Linked DNA regions of Homo sapiens: region 1 is linked to region 2. Evidence: promoter capture Hi-C in 16 types of primary human blood cells and fetal thymus (Javierre and others, 2016). All regions are on one chromosome and are shown on one strand. Each heading gives the region's core, a stretch centred on a gene start or on the middle of the fragment in contact. The rest is flanking DNA. Distances are from core to core; before and after follow the strand shown. Region 1 overlaps FAM98A (family with sequence similarity 98 member A). Region 2 holds the start of MAP4K3 (mitogen-activated protein kinase kinase kinase kinase 3).

Region 1 (5,428 bases), core at 1,736-4,235, 5.8 Mb before region 2:
TGTATCATGTTTCATTTGAGAAAAAGGGGCTCCAGGTTAAATAGAGGTATCATCTAGTACTGGTGTTTTCAAAGGTTCCTACAGTCTCTCAAACATCTGGTCAAGAGGCAGTATAGCACAGTGTTCAAGCACACTGGCTCAGAACTTGACTACTGTTCTGGGGTTGAAACCAGGCTTCACCCCTACAGGTTGTATGACCTCAGGCAATGTATTTAAATTCTCTGGGCTTTCTTGTTAAAGGTATAACAGTAATAAAACCTGCCTCATAGGGTTGCCCTGAGGTTTAATGAGTTAACACATATAAAGTGTTTAGAACATAGTGAGTACACAATAAATGTAAGCTGTTGCTATCATTACTGTTACACTATACTCTCCTTAATAATTAGAACTGAATGCAACTAACACGTACACATTAAATATACCAGCATGCAAGCCATCATCCTCCACAAACTAACACAGGAACAGAAAAAAAACACCACATGTTCTCACCACTAAGTGGGAGTTAAAAAATGAGAACACATGGACACAGGGAGGGGAACAACACACACCAGGGCCTGTTGCGGGTTAGAGGGTGAGGAGAGGGAACTCAGAGGACAGGTCAATAGGTGTAGCAAACCACCATGGCACACGTATCCCTATGTAACAAACCTGCATGTTCTACACATGTATCCCGGAACATAAAGTTAAAAAAAAAAAAAAAAAAAAAAAAATTATATATATATATATACACACACACACACACACACACACATACATACACACATATATATATACACACATATATATACACATATATATATACACACATATATATACACATATATATATACACACATATATATACACATATATATATACACACACACACACACACACTAGCATGCAAGAAGGTGAGCTCTTCAAAACGTGATTATGTGGAAAAAAAGGAATTATATGTATAGCTCTCCATAAGGGTGGGTTAACAGGTGAGTATTTTCCTTGGTCTCCTATTATAGGTTTACCTACAGCAGGAAGGAACCAGATGGTAGAGTGGTAGGTTCCAAGCTTTTGCCTCTTTTGCAGTGTCGACAAACTAGTGCAACAGTGGAAACAAAATTGGTAAATGCAGAACAGCTCTCAGATCCATAAATTTGATTGTCCTGGATCTCACTGTGATGTATCTAACGATGCATTCTTATGATAAACAAAATGTCTTAACAAAGTGTTCTCTTTCTCCCCAAGCATAACAGAATAATAATGCATTTACTCTACATGCTATAGATGCTTCTAGAATCTGGTAATCCTAAAAGAAAAATATCCCAGTATCTAGTTCTAGCCATCAATCTAGGATCTTACATTTAACATCTTACAAAATATAGGAAGTTCATACATTCTATGCTTGTGGTCTCCATTTCTCTGTATCCCAGTAATAGGGTCTTTTCAGCATCCACGAATTTTTAAGTTACATGACTTTATTCTGGTATTTCAACTTCTGAATCACCTCTAAAAACAACGGACGGAAAAAAAATCTTGGCTTCTTTACAAATTTTTTACATTTACAAAAACTTGCAACTTTCAGCTTTAGTATTGATAATGTTCAGTTGACAATACCTCAATGTTATTTTTATACTTTGTACCTAAAAGTGAATGTTTACTTACTGTTAGTTGCTTGCACGTTTTCCTCTAGTTTACAGAGCACTCTTAATTCAGACACCAGCCAAGCACAGAGTTTGGTAAACTCGGGGGAACTGGCTCCAGCAGAGACTGCCTGAGAGAGCGCTCCATCTTCCAACAATGGGCCCTTGTAACTGGTGAGCAAGAAATTACATTTCAGAAGAAAATACAATCATACCTAATATATTACAGATAAAACATATCTATGTCTTATTTATATAAGCAATAATTTAATAAAGATAAGTTAGTACTTATCTTTATTTTAAATGGACAAATATAAACATAATTTAGAACTATACTGAACCATTACAAAAAGCAGCTAAATGGTAGCTGCATTTCAACCTTTCAAAATGTAGGTGAATATCTAACAGAATTGCATATACTACTAAATTATGTCAACTTCTGTACATTTACTAAAAGCTTCCATTGTAAAAAGATTTATTTTCTTACTGTAATTGAATTGAGTATTAAAAGCAAATTAACAAGTAATAGCTAATTATACTGTAACTTATTTCAGAAATAAAACTTAGGTTATCTTTTCTAAAAATTTTCCAGAAAACAACTAGATTATGTTTTTATTTTGAGATGAGGTCTTGCACTGTCACATAGGCTGAAGTGCAGTGAAGGCACAAGCCACCAAACCTGGCTTTTTTTTTATTTTTTATAAAATAGCCAGGGGTCTTACTATGTTGCCCAGGCTTAGTTAGGTTTTTAATGACTTCCTTTAAAAGTAAAAACTTTCCAGTTAACCATTTATATCATTTTTATAAATTTAATGCCAGTTAAGACTAGTAAGACATTCTAGTACCAAAGAAACGTCAGGTTAGGTTAATAAATATTGGCAGTTAATGAACTGGCGCATCTGAATCCTAATCCTTTGTAAGTGATTCCAATATAATTTTAAAAAATTTAAAAATGTTCAAACATTCATAAAAGATGACAGTCATAATGAACTCCAATCACCAATATTCTAAAATATAAGATTTCTGTCACTCCAAGTAATCTTAAATACATATTATTCAGATTGCTTTACATTCTCTTAAATATTGATAATAATGCTTACTTAAGATGATACAATAAATATGCTTAAGATAATATAATGTTTAGGCCAGGCGTGGTGGCTCACGCCTGTAATCCCAGCACTTTGGGAGGCCGAGGCAGGTGGATCACGAGGTCAGGAGACCAAGACGATCCTGGCTAACACGATGAAACCCCATCTCTAATAAAAATACAAAAAAATTAACCAGGCATGGTGGAGGGCGCCTGTAGTCTCAGCTACTCAGGAGGCTGAGGCAGGAGAATGGCTTGAATCCAGGAGGCAGAGCTTGCAGTTAGCCGAGATCGCACTACTGCACTCCAGCCTGGGCGACAGAGCAAGACTCCGTATCAAAAAAAAAAAAAAAAAAAGATAATATAATGTTGAGAACTACAGGTATGTTAGAGAAATGACAGTTCTCAAACCCTTTAAAATATGATTATAGGTTTATACAGTATATGCAACAAAATGAAAACAAATCATACATAAAAAAATGAGATCACATGTAGTCTGGCATCTAGATTTATAAACTATGTATTATTAGACACTGAAATCAAAAGACTAGGCCTAGAAGTTTCTCCTTGAGTTTCACATTTAGACTTCATTAGTTTATTCAACAAGTAGTTACTGAATTCCTACTGTGTGCCAGGTAAGAGATAAAAGATGACTATTTGCCAGGATCAGTGGCATACACCTGTAGTCCCAGCTACTCCGGAGCCTGAAGTGGGAGGATCGCTTGAGGCTAGGAGTTCGAGACCAGCCTGGTCACCAGAGCAAGACCTCATCTCTTAATAAATAAATAAATAGAAAAGGTAGTCATTTAATTCTAATATTTCTCAGTTAATCCTTTAAAAGTACATTTCAGTTAATTAAGGCTGACTTTTAATATTTGAATGCCACCAAACTAAGTAGTTAAGGTTAAAATTTATAACAGTTTTCAGAAAATCCATGGTTTACATTACACTCTATGTCAAGTAGTTATGTGATTACAATTACTACAGTAACAATTACTTGTACAGTACCCAAAAGAATAAAAAGTTAAAAAAAGGAGGGGGAAAAAAAAAGACAATAATGGGAAGAAACAGCATCCGTGGCCAATTCTTAAGTGACCACTATCCATGCAGAAAGACTACATTTAATAAGGTCTACCCCCTTCCTTTCATTCCACTCATTCCACTACAGTACTATAGTGTCATTTATTCCAGAAAGAAGCTTCTAGGATTTCATTTCCTTTCCCAGTAAAGGGACCCTCCTCAGGGCTCCTCACAGCATATTTTCCCAGTATCCTGTGAACCCCTCTTCCACCTCACCTTGTACTCTAAGGGCCTAACACTGCCACAAAGAAACTGTTCCTAAAAAAGTCCTAATGAATGAATGGTTTCATGTGTGAACAAGCGATTCAGTCTGAGATGTCAACTAAAGAGACTATTTTGCTGAATGACTTTAACATATGCCCTAATGAAAGAAAGAAGCCCCCTAAAGTCTGGAATATTTATAAAAATTCAGAGCAAGTTTCCAAGAAAAGAACAATAGTATTTCACTGTGACAAAGACAGATGATAAGCAAGACTACTTCGTTCCTAAAAATTTCTACTAGGGTAGTAAATTATTCAAATAGGCAGACTTTGGGAATCCTCAAGGTGTTTTTTCCTAAAGAAAGGTTTCTCTCAAAGGTTTCCTTGTCATGGAAAAACCTAAGAGAAAATTTTGATAAAGAACTTGTTACTTAGAAATACAGCTAGCTAAATCTGTACTTTGTTTTGATACCGTACCTGTAGGTAAGTATCTAACCATACAATTTGTTTCTGGAACCACATTTAGCCCAAGAGGGTCCACGTTCTCAAGTTTAATAGAGTACACTGATCTGGGTGACCCAGTGAGATAACAAACCCTATTTCCAGCTTCTAGATACTGATGAATTATGGTTGAATAAATATCAGGAGAAGGAGAGACACAATGCAAAACAAATACGCAGGTTCTTCGTGGGTGAAGACGACCCTGGTCTAATGGGGCTCAACGAGGCAGAGTATCACAGAGTCAAAGCAAACTGCTGGTGGTTCCCAGGGACGTGGTGATAGGTTAGATGCACAAGCGAGCTGGCCAGCGGAACAGATGCAGCGCCCATACAAGTGGCTTAGCGAAGCCTGGGTGCATGCAGAGATGACTGGGCAAAGGAGAAATTTTGAGAGAAGTGGGGTGGGGTAGGAGGAGGGGCTCAAGATGGGAGTAGGAAATTTGGAGAACAAGTAGGAAAGCAGAATCAACTTTGGCAACCTTTAGAGTTGAGGGGTTAAGGGGTAGGGCAGGAGGATGAAGCGAGGAGAGAAGCTCGGGGAGTGGGGGTGGCGAAAATCAGAGCCCAGACAATGACACGCATGACTGACAAACGCTGCGGGTAGCTCGCCTGCAGGGAGCACTGGGCAGGCCTAGGGGTGTTGGGATTGGAGGACCCCGAGCTAGCAGTGCAGACAGTGGACGTGGCATTGGGGGTGCCGGGGCCAAAGGGAAGCGACAGCCAGGAGCCACGGGGTGCGGCGTGGAGAGGCAGGTGTCTCAGACTGGGGCGCAGGAGGTGTTCCCAGGGGGCCGGCAGCGTGGGGCTTGGGAGACCCGTGCCCTGACAATCTTACCCTAGATCTTCCAACGACTCCAAGATGTCAGTCTCCATGAGGTCACACTCCATGCTACTGTGGTATTCAAATTTCCGAGTCGTCAGGCTCCCCTCTTCGCCGGCAACGCG
Region 2 (5,954 bases), core at 2,669-5,168:
TACTATCTCCTGCTTCTTTCTAGCAAAAAATCTAGAAAAACATAAGGACATCAAGACTTAAAGGGTAGGAATAATAAAAATTAAACTGGAAAACTGCCTGACAAAAGATGGCACAATGCATGTGAAAATCATATTATGATCTATTATAACTACCTAATTTCTCCAAGAAAACTTTTTTGAATGGCAAACCTATGGATCATTTTTTCATTTTTTTGGATCATGAAGCTCTTTAAGAATGCAATGAATGCTATAACCCATCTCCACAGAAAAACACAAATACATACAACATTAAGCCTATTAATTTCAGAGCACTCCATGGGCCTCCTGAGGCCCAACTAAAGAGCTTCAGTTGCCAGCTCCTAGGTCCCTAGGTAACCCAAGCTGCAGGCACTTCATGACAGATAAAGCCTGCAGAGTTACACGACACTTACAAGATACGACTTTAGACAGTGCAGATAAAATGTATATATGCATTGGCCTGAAAAAAATAAAGATAACTTACTTACTAAGTAAAATTTGAGTCATTTAGTCAATACCAAAAGAAGAAGGGCATATGATGGTAATAATATCTCCACAACAAAACAGCTCTGAGAGGTTGATTTCACAAGGTCACATAGCTAATAAATCCCAGATTGTCCACATCCTTGTTCAGTGCTTTGGAACTAAACCACGCCACCTTAAGTACAATAAATATGTTATTACATTGAGTAGGAAAACATTTTCAAAATAAAAATCTCCACCAACCTTCCAAGAATGACTATAATCGGATCTCTTATTTATTTAATCCAATCATTCCATTTTTAGCACGTAAATGCTGACAAATTAAGGAACAAATTATATATATTGGCTTTTGAAAACAAAATGTACTTCTCTCTAGCACAATTAATTTGTATAAATAAGAAAAAACTAAAACAGCAAAACAAATAACAAAAAAATGTAACTTTATAGAATAAACTTGATTATAGACAAAAACATAAACAAGAGTTTGGCAGGCAGGGGTACATGATGTCAAGAACCACATGAAGTTTCTCTGCTTTGGTCACTGGTATTGGAAGAGTCTGGCAGGCAGGGACCAAGCATCTATTATCTGATATCCACTTGGCAGACTACATAAACAGTGAGACCTTGTGGCACAGCAGGAATTAGGTATTCCAACTACTACTTAAAGATCTACACTGACTCAGAGTGTGGCTACAACTCAAATGCTAAACTAAATGTGTGCCTCAGTTTCTCCACTGGAAATGTAATACATTATCTGCCCATCTCCTATCTTTAGAGAGGCAGCACTGCCAATTGGTTAAGAATACAGTCCCTAATTGGTTCAAATTTTGGCTTTGCCACCTACCAACTTTGGCAAGTTAATCTCCTTGTGCCTCAGTTTATTCAACTGCAAAATGGAGTTAACAATAGCACCTATCTCACAGGGTTGCTGTTAGGATTAATTAGAAAAATCTTATAGTGCCTGGCAAGTAACAAGCATTCCATAAACATCAGCTAGTATTATCATTATTTTAAACGAATGACAAGATTAACCAACTTAGTATACCTCTATTACACTTAGGAAATTACAGGCCCTAATTTTTTTTTGCTTTTTAATCATGTGGCTTAACTACTAACTGTTCTTTTTAATATAGCAAGTACACAGCCAATTAGTCCTGTAAAAAAATTCACTGTATACCCTGCCACCTAAAACGTATACATTCATCGAGTTTTAGTTAACTTTTCATCGCAATATAAGCGAACTCCCCCAACCAGTCATAAGTGACTTGCATCCATCCACTTCTACTTTCACAGTCATCACCATATTCCTTAACACCATTATTCTTACCTAGACTATCACAGTGGCCTCCCAACTGCTCCATTCCACTCTTCATGCTGTAGTAGGGAGCTCTTTTAAAAACCTAAATCTAATGTCACTCCTCTGCTTAAAAGCCTGCAATAGTTCCCCATTGTCCTAAACAAGTCCGATCTCCTAATGAGAACTAAGAGGCCTGCAAGATCTAGGGCCACCCTCCCGCTCTGGCTGCTCAGGCTATACAGGCCTTCTTTCACATCGGGCCTCAGAGCCTTCACATATCATGCTCCCCTATCTGGCGTAATCCCCTCTCCCCAGTACCCTAAGCAACGCCTAATCATCTCTGAGATCTCAGCTGAAAGGCGATGAGCGTCTGATACCCTAAACAGGATCAGGTCCTCCTATTACATGCTCTCATAACCCTGATCCTAATACTCTTTTCTGCATCACAAAATTAAACGGCAATAATTATTTAAATGGCTATTTAATACTGTCCTTGTCCAAAAAAATAGAAACACTTAGGAAGATTTGGAACCAAGTCTATCGTTTACTGCTACAACCCAAAGTGCTTACTTGCCAAGTATCTCATACATTGTAGGTGGGCTCAATATATCTATATTGCATAGTAGGAAAAGTGATGAGATCCACGATGGTGAAAAGTAGATCATCCAGAAAATCAGACTAAAGCAGAACACTGGCTGCACTGTATTAAATATGTAAGTTACCACAGGCATTACACTGAAGAGTAAAAACCTGCTTAAACATGGGCAAAATAAAGTTAAGACTGAACTTTCCAATGCAAAATTAAGTTTCTTTGTGCATCCTCAGGTGTTATGTGAAACTGGAGGAGTTCAACTTCAGTTACCAGTAAGAAGATACACAACTAAATCAAGACTGCTGCCACATTTGGCAACAACCTCCTCTCTTCTTGGCAGTAACTGTGAGGCCAAGAGTTGAGTTGGCCAGGGAAGAGTGATTTATCTTCCCACATTTAGAAGTGGTCCCTCTACAACAGGAATGCTGTACCGCTACTGGACTTTGAATTCTAACCTTGTCAAACCAGTACCTTCCCTAAGTATTCAAGTCACTTTTTAAAAAACAAGTTTAAATGGCATCGCAGTCCAATTCGACTTAGAGAAAACAAAGTTGCTCTTTCCAAAAAAAAAAAAAAGTCATTACTCTGGAAAATTAAAAGAAACTGACAGGGGGATGAATAAGGCGCTAAAGGCTGAGAGCTGTCGATGGAAGATGGAGGTCGCTCAGCATAGTATAATAACTACCACCGAGGCCTGGTGGGCAGCAGCTCCCAACCTAGAGCGGACGACCCCAGGTTGGCGTGAAGCAGGCAGGTTTGACAACACCAGACCCCTGCTGTCCGGTTCGTCGCGCTGACCCTGCCAACGCAACAAACGCCCAGACCTTCTCTGCACTATGGATGAGCAGTGTGGCCTGCTCTCGTTCTGCCCTTCCCTGGAAATGCGCGCAAGAAGGGAGGTGGCAAAAATCATGTCCACCGGGGGGGCTCAGGTAAGGGCTGGGGAGGTCTCGGGGTTAAACATTCGGCCCTTTGTTCACCAAGGCAGCAGAGCCCTTGGCGTCCGCAGCTCCTCCTCCCCGACTGCTCCCTGGCGCCAGCGTCTCCCGAGGACAGGCGGCAAGGGCTCGGACGCCCAGGCTTGGCTGCGGGTCGGGATCCCACGGCCTCGGCGGCGCGCGGCCCCTGCCTTTACCTTGTAGACGTCGCCGTAGGTGCCGCTGCCGATGCGCTGAATCAGCTCGAAGTCCTCCTGCGGGTTCCGGCGGGACAAATCGAAGCCGGGGTTCATGGCGGGCCCCAGGTGCCCCCCGCCTCCCTCCCGGGCAGGGGAGGGGGGCCGCTCAGGGGGCCACACGGAGAGAGGGCGCCGCGGCCGGCTCCCGGCTCCCCCGGCGGTCACAATCACCCGGCTCCACGCTGCGGCCGCCGCCGCCGCCGCCGCTCCCCTCACGCCGCTGCGGACGACGACAAGCGGCCAATCGTCCCCGCCCCCCGCGGCCCGCCGCCGCGCCGAACCTGGTCACACCCACAAGGAGAGGAGAACCCTCGCAGCCCCTCGCTCGGGGTGAAACTCCAACATGGCTTCCGCTTTCGCCGCTCCTCCCCCTCCCCTTACTCCGGCTCCTCCAACCTCCTCCCCTTTTCCCGACTCCCGCCCGACTGCGCAGCCGCGATCCCGGAGGGAGCGCGCCAGGCCTGGCGCGCACCCGACCCCTTGCGCGTTCCGGCTCCGCGCGCCTGCCAGGCCGGGGCCGGCGGCGGAACAGCTTGGGACCCGAAACGCCTCGGCTTTTCTGCGGACCCGCGCCCGGCCGCTGCCGCCGGACGCTTGAAAAGGTTTGCCTGGCCCAGGGACCGGGGTTAGGACTAGCAGAAAGTGGCTTCTTTTCGTTTCTGATTCCCCTAACGACAAAGTTGGACCTTGGTCTATCTGGTCCCAGTTCCAAGCAGGTAGCATAGTGGTAATATCCAAGACAGCCAATGTCCCAGCCTTTATTATTTTAGAAGCAGCTACATGTAGGATACCATGGAGTGCTGCAGCCTTTCTGGGATTGCGGGGAGGGGTCACTAAACACACCGTGAGGAAAACCCCCAGGAAAAGTGAGCTGTGCTTGCTTGCCCCTGTCACCGACACTCGGACCCTTGGAGTTGGCCTGCCAGGGTGCAAAGGAGGGCAGGCCAGGAGGGCCGCGAGGGAGGTGTGTGCAGTGGGCAGAGCGTGAAAGCTCCGGGAGGAAAACACGCGGAACAGCTGCCCACCATCCCGCGTGGGAGGCAGGCAGAGCGCAGAACTAAAGCAGTGATTGACCTCCCTCTTCGAAGAGGGTTGGATTATCAAAGACGGGCGGGGACTGCGCAGGCTGTCAAGCAACCCTGTAAAGAAGGGGTGGAGAGTGGACTAGATCTATTACCGCACCTGAAATATAAACACGTGACGATCCGGAAGCTCTTTAGCTGTGACCTTACCTACCCAAAAACCCCACCCTGCTTAAGACCCAGATTGCGCGTCTTACATCTGAGCTATGTGGACTCCAGCTCCGATTGTTAATACTTGCCCAAGAAAGCTTGAGGGTAATGGAAGGTTATTTTTCTGTTCTCATTGAACTTCCCAATAGACATTTGCAGGAGCTTTAATCAATTAGGTGATGGCCACTTTGGCAATACCACGTTGGAGTTTTGCTTCAGAAATGCTTTCCTAATCCCCTTAGGCACCACACCTTCTAACCACTAATATTCCCTAATACCTCGTGGCTCCTGAGAAACTAGGTCTCATCAAACCTGTTAAGGATAAGTATAATAAATTAATAGTAGAGCAAACTACTTAGAGTTAACTGCTTCATACTTTTTCAAAAAATCTTTTGAATCCTTTTGCTCATAGGAAAATTGCATATGTACTAAATTCTCAAATTGTTTACTTTGAGTATCTGTTGACTAAATTGATGTTTGAAAATGGTTATCTCTTCACCTATATAAGTAGCCTTTCAGTTGTGTAATTTTTAATTATTAAATTTTAAAGCATCAGTAATATGAAAGTATCACTTAAATTATTGCCTTAGGAGTGCATATCATTGAATATCTTCTCGATGGATCTACCTTCAGGCTCTGGTATCTTGAGAAACTCCTGACTATAAATGTTATTCCATAGCCAAAGGTCTTGCTTTTGCTTGTTTAAGGTACTTGCCCAGGACCCAGATTACAGGCCTTCCTTCAGTTTGTCCACATTTGGAGAATTGTTTGGCATGTTTAGGCCAAGCGCAAGAATAATTAGCCAAGGATTCAGATAAGCAGACCTGACAAATTATCCCAAATGGAAGCCAGGTCTGCTCTTTTCCTCTGCCTTTTTTTTTTTTTTTTTTTTGAGAAGGAGTTTCGCTCTAGTTGTCCAGGCTTGAGTGCAAGGGTGCAATCTCAGCTCACTGAAACCTCTGCCTCCCGGGTTCTTAGCGATTCTCCTGCCTCAGCCTCCCAAGTAGCTGGGATCACAGGCATGCAACACCACACCCAGCTAATTTTTGTATTTTTAGTAGAGATGGGATTTCTCCTTGTTGGTCAGGCTGCTCTTGAACTCCCGACCTCAGATGATCCGCCTGCCTCGGCCTCCTGAAGTGGTGGGATTACAGG

What was found. The method cuts DNA at HindIII sites, captures the fragments that hold promoters and counts their contacts. A CHiCAGO score of 5 or more calls a contact.
Region 1: a fragment that was not itself captured here is called in contact with the fragment with the promoter of MAP4K3 in region 2 in 1 of 17 cell types (non-activated CD4 T cells); the score reaches 5.3 in non-activated CD4 T cells.

What each region holds. Positions count from the first base shown.
Region 1 is chr2:33,593,851-33,599,278 of GRCh38, forward strand. It overlaps FAM98A (family with sequence similarity 98 member A), which reads right to left. Exons shown (of 8, transcript NM_015475.5): 1 at 5,319-5,428; 2 at 1,639-1,787. The coding sequence starts at 5,371. Among named protein-coding and RNA genes, the nearest start is that of FAM98A, 2.7 kb to the right of the region's middle. RefSeq lists an enhancer at 4,703-4,892. The HindIII fragment of the contact is 1,828 bases long and covers 2,072-3,899 here.
Region 2 is chr2:39,433,367-39,439,320 of GRCh38, forward strand. MAP4K3 (mitogen-activated protein kinase kinase kinase kinase 3) reads right to left here and starts at 3,919. Exons shown (of 34, transcript NM_003618.4): 1 at 3,526-3,919. The coding sequence starts at 3,621. MAP4K3-DT (MAP4K3 divergent transcript) reads left to right here and starts at 4,050. Exons shown (of 6, transcript NR_037875.1): 1 at 4,050-4,169. RefSeq lists an enhancer at 3,113-3,192 and silencers at 3,523-3,882, 3,953-4,172. The HindIII fragment of the contact is 5,405 bases long and covers 1-4,895 here.